2 separate regions of the Homo sapiens genome follow, and region 2 is linked to region 1. The links are contacts of gene promoters, found by promoter capture Hi-C in blood cells and fetal thymus (Javierre and others, 2016). All regions are on one chromosome and are shown on one strand. The core of a region is centred on a gene start or on the middle of the fragment in contact, and the rest is flanking DNA. Distances in the headings are between cores, read along the strand shown.

What was found. Contacts are between HindIII fragments. The CHiCAGO score rates a contact against its expected background, and 5 or more counts as called.
Region 2: a fragment that was not itself captured here is called in contact with the fragment with the promoter of PPP1R2 in region 1 in 3 of 17 cell types (naive CD4 T cells, non-activated CD4 T cells and total CD4 T cells); the score reaches 7.0 in naive CD4 T cells.

Annotation. Positions count from the first base shown.
Region 1 is chr3:195,542,048-195,544,623 of GRCh38, reverse strand. PPP1R2 (protein phosphatase 1 regulatory inhibitor subunit 2) reads left to right here and starts at 1,299. Exons shown (of 6, transcript NM_006241.8): 1 at 1,299-1,720. The coding sequence starts at 1,599. RefSeq lists a silencer at 1,088-1,327. The HindIII fragment of the contact is 8,075 bases long and covers 1-2,002 here.
Region 2 is chr3:195,865,261-195,867,836 of GRCh38, reverse strand. TNK2 (tyrosine kinase non receptor 2) reads left to right here. Exons shown (of 16, transcript NM_001382273.1): 13 at 1-476; 14 at 573-668; 15 at 821-948. Among named protein-coding and RNA genes, the nearest start is that of LINC01983, 6.1 kb to the right of the region's middle. The HindIII fragment of the contact is 9,288 bases long and covers 1-2,576 here.

The sequences.
Region 1 (2,576 bases), core at 50-2,549:
CGGGGCCAGACGATAAAAACAATCGTTTTCAGAACCCTACAGTCATCCCTGAGGGGCAGAGTCCTAAGGACACAGAACAGGGTCATCCTCAAAAGGCACAGAGCCTGTGTTAAAGAAGATGAGACTGTGGTCCAGAGATGAGCCATGGGAGTGAAACTGCTGCTATAGGGGCTAGATAGGGGAAAACGCTTCCTCTCACCCCCCACAGCAGTGGACAGACATTGCTGGGAGCGAGGTGTCAGCTCAATCTAAGAACTCCCAGAGTCAGAGCTGTCCAAAAACAAAATGAGTTACACGGGGGTGTGGCGGGCTTCTAGCCCCTGGGGTTGTTGGAGAAACAGGCTGAATAGCCACCTTATGGGCCTGCTTGACAAGGTCCCTTCCAGGACCAGTGGTCTGTGAATCCGCAGGGGCTGGTCCACCGGAGGGGCCAGTTCTGGGTGGCTCAGTCTGCTGTGCTCTAACCTGTGGTGAGGACGATAAAAAGGCCTGATCAAGAAAGAGTCATGGAAAAGAGCCTGGTGATGAGCGAGCTGCGGACTGGACTTGGGAGAGGGAGGGAAGGGAGTGTACAGGGACCATAACAAATACCACACACGAGGTGGCTTTAAGCAATGGAAATGGGCTCTCCGTTCTGCAGGCTTGAAGTCCACATCAACCTGCGGCAGAGTTGGTTCCCTCTGTGGGGGGAACCTGTCGCGGCCTCTGCGGGCCCAGGAGGTCCTTGGCTGGGAGATGTGTCCCTGCCGCCCTCCCGTCTCCTGCGCTCTCTGCCTAGACGGGTTGTGCGACGGCGGGGGTCGCTGCCCGTCTGTCCGTCGGCTTCTCCAGCGGTAAAAGGAGGTGAGGCGATTCCAATGCAGACATTCTATGATTTCATAATAGGCCTCTAAGGACCACTCCAATGCTGGCAGTCCATGCTTTTATAATAGGCAGTTCGGCTGTTTACACGGGCGAAATGGAAAGAGGAGATACCCGTTTTCTTCAAGTCAGCTAACCTCTCTGCGGAGTGACGTCACCTCGAGTCTCAGTCTGCTGATCTAAAAAATAAAAATAACACTACGGCCTCACAAGGTGGTGGGACGAGGGTGCTCGAGAGACGCGCGGGTCCGGGAAGCAGCAAGCCCGGGCGCTCTCCCGCAGGTTCTCAGAGACAGCTCCCGCCTCCCAGCGCCGCGCGGGGGCGGGGCGAGCAGCCCGGGCGGGACGGAGGGGGCGGGGCGAGGAGGTCGGCTTTGTTCTCGCCCCGCCCTCTCCCCGCCTCCTCCCTAGATATCGCGAGAGGGCGGGTCCGCTTGGCTTCGGCGTCGCGTCGCTCCTGCGCTGGAGCTCTAGGCCGGCGTCTCTCCGCGAGCCGCGGGTCAAGTGCCAGTGGCTAAGGGTGCGCGAGTAGCCGCCACCCGTTCGGCGTTGGCTCTGGCGTCGGGGTCGTTGTGTCGTGACAACCGCTGCGGTAGCCGTTTCCGAGGCAGCAGTTGCGGCCGCTTTAGCCCTGAGCGGGATCTGCGGCTGCCTGCGAGTCTCTGCTGTGCCGACCCTTCTCTTCGCGGACCCCACGCCAAGCAGCGACCCTGAGCCGACAGCCGGAGCGCCCGGCAATGGCGGCCTCGACGGCCTCGCACCGGCCCATCAAGGGGATCTTGAAGAACAAGACCTCTACGACTTCCTCTATGGTGGCGTCGGCCGAACAGCCCCGCGGGAATGTCGACGAGGAGCTGAGGTGAGCGCTGGGAGGGACGGCCTGGGAGCCCCTCCTTCCCGCCGGGCCCGTTACCTACCCAGACCCCAGGGGCGGGCGGGCGGCGTGGATGCGGCTCGGGTGCCGCTCGAGTCTCTTCTCCTGCCCGGCTAGCCGCGGGTGGGAGCGATCTTTAAGAAGGCTGGGCGATGACGTTTATCATGCTTCCTTTTTTTTTTTTAAGCATTTGGGCATATATAATATTTTTAAACATCATCTTTGAACTTTCTGTAATCGGGAACATCAAAGAATGAAATTGAAGCTTCAGATCTTCGACTGTTAAGCTTTTACTATTTCTTAACCTCATCTCTGAGGTATCTAAAATTCTTCGATAATTACAGTGTATTTTCTTGCTTTGGGAACCCTTTAAGATCTAGTCTCAAGCTAATAGGCGATCCGTCAAAGAAGAGACCATTTCCCCCATTAGCATTGTGCCACACTGTATTTCTGCATCTGCAACCAGAGTTTTGGGTGCTTTCTAGTTTTTGTTCCTGTTCAGAGATAGATCTAAGCTCAAAACAGTTCAAAGAGGAGCAACTTGAAATGACCCAGTGGTAATTTAGTTGCTCTTGCATACGCTAAAGATACACATGTAAAAAGTTGTTGACCTGAGCATTGTATGTAATATTTATAATATAATTGGAAACGACCGGAAGTCCATTAGTAAGAGCTGGTGAAATATTAATTACGGTACGTTTGTATAATGGAACAATATACTAGCCTTTAAAAAAAGAAAGGTAGGCGTTTATGCACGGAGAAAATGTTGCAGTACAGTATCTGTAGTGGGTTAGAAGTGCACGGGGGCTTGGGCGTTGCAAGATACTAAAAATAGAAGGAC
Region 2 (2,576 bases), core at 41-2,540, 320 kb before region 1:
GGCTCTCAAGCTCACCTGGGAAGACCATGCCCACCACCCAGAGCTTTGCCTCAGACCCCAAGTACGCCACCCCCCAGGTGATCCAGGCCCCTGGCCCGCGGGCTGGTCCCTGCATCCTGCCCATCGTCCGGGATGGCAAGAAGGTCAGCAGCACCCACTATTACTTGCTGCCCGAGCGACCATCCTACCTGGAGCGCTACCAGCGCTTCCTGCGTGAGGCCCAGAGCCCCGAGGAGCCTACCCCCCTGCCTGTGCCTCTGCTGCTGCCCCCACCCAGCACCCCAGCCCCCGCCGCCCCCACGGCCACCGTGCGGCCGATGCCCCAGGCTGCCTTGGACCCCAAGGCCAACTTCTCCACCAACAACAGCAACCCAGGGGCCCGGCCACCACCCCCGAGGGCCACTGCTCGGCTGCCACAGAGGGGCTGCCCTGGCGATGGGCCAGAGGCGGGCCGGCCAGCAGACAAGATCCAGATGGTGAGCACCCAGCCTGGCTGTGGGCGAAGCGGGGCAGGGCCCAAGGGGCCTGGAGCAGTGGGCCCTAGTGGTGCTGACAGGGGTGGGTGTGCCCAGCTGCAGGCCATGGTGCATGGGGTGACCACAGAGGAGTGCCAGGCGGCCCTGCAGTGCCACGGCTGGAGCGTGCAGAGGGCTGCCCAGTATCTGAAGGTACCGCCACCTCCTGCTCACTCTGGCTCTCAGGGACCCTGAAGCCTGGTTCTGCTGCCCCCAGCCCCACGCCCCCTGGCTCCGACTCCCCTCTTCCCCACCCTAGTCGGTGCCCTGGGCCCGCGTGTCCATGGCGCCACCCTTACCCCCAGGTGGAGCAGCTCTTCGGGCTGGGTCTGCGGCCCAGAGGGGAGTGCCACAAAGTGCTGGAGATGTTCGACTGGAACCTGGAGCAGGCCGGCTGCCACCTTCTGGGCTCCTGGGGCCCTGCCCACCACAAGTGAGTGAGCCCCACAGTCTGCCCCGCTCCGTGCCCCAGGAGGGCTGTCCCAGAGCCTGCCACACTGGGAGGAAGCCCAACACCTCGCAGGCCGCTCCCGGCCAGGGAGACACAGCTCTCCAGCTGCGGGAGGGAGGCGCTCACAGGGCCCAGCAAATCGTTTTTCCTAAATGTGTTTATTTGGACATTTTAGCCACTTGGTTTTCAAATGAGTACAAGAGGGAATTGGAGCCTCTCTGGTTGAAGGAGGCTTGCTTCCCTAGCACCTGCAGTGACCCTGAGCGGCTCCAGGAATGGCACTTTTTAGGACCCCATGATTTGCACACCTCTTTCTCACCTCTGTGTTTCCATATTTCTGTTTAAAGTAACATTTAAAATTTCAGTGTTGGCTGGGCACCGTGGCTCATGGCTGTAATCCCCAGCACTGTGGGAGGCCAAGGAGGGAGGATCACCTGAGGTCAGGAGTTCGAGACCAGCCTGGCCAACATGGCGAGACCAGGTCTCTACTAAAAATACAAAAATTAACCGGGTATGGTGGTGGGCACCTGTAATCCCACCTGCTGGGGAGGCTGAGGCAGGAGAATCGCTTCAACCTGGGAGGCGGAGGTTGCTGTGAGCTGAGATTGCACCACTGCACTCCATCCTGGGCGACAGAGGGAGACTGTCTCCAAAAAAAAAAATTTTCTCTAAAAAGAAAATATATTGTCTTTCCTGTAAAAGGTTTATATTATAGTTTAACAAAATATATAGACATTTAAAATATATACATATATAAACACACTTTATATATTATGTAAATATATATATGAGAGCGCTGTCAAGTCAAAAAGAAGTGAACTGAGGTCACATGGCTGGAGCCAGCACCATGGCAGGAGGCACTGGCGGGAGGAGGGGCTGACACGGGCCAGGCCCTGGAGATACCTGCTGCCCTTGTCCCAGCAGCGTGGCCCTGTGCACGGTGCGGAGTTTCTCCACATATAAAGCGTGTAGATAATAGTGCTCACCCCGTGGAAGGGACTGGCGCGATGGATGGGGGACATGTCTGTCTTATTGCGCCCAGCACGCCTGGCGCCAGGATGCAGGCACTCCGTGTCACCTGTCTGTCCCATACTGTCTCGGGTGGTTCTTACTGATTTGCAGCTGGGATGCAGGCACTCCCTGTCACCTGTCTGTCCCATACTGTCTCGGGTCGTTCTTAACTGATTTGCACCTGGGACGCAGGCACTCTGTGTCACCTGTCTGTCATTGTCTCGGGTGGTTCTTACTGATTTGCACCTGGGACGCAGGCATTCGCTGTCACCTGTCTGTCACTGTCTCGGGTGGTTCTTACTGATTTGCACCTGGGATGCAGGCACTCCGTGTCACTTGTCTGTCCCAGTCTCGGGTGGTTCTTACTGATTTGCACCTGGGATGCAGGCACTCGGTGTCACCTGTCTGTCCCATCCTGTCTCGGGTCATTCTTAACTGATTTGCACCCGGGACGCAGGCACTCTGTGTCACCTGTCTGTCACTGTCTCGGGTGGTTCTTACTGATTTGCACCCGGGACGCAGGCACTCGCTGTCACCTGTCTGTCACTGTCTCGGGTGGTTCTTACTGATTTGCACCTGGGACGCAGGCACTCGCTGTC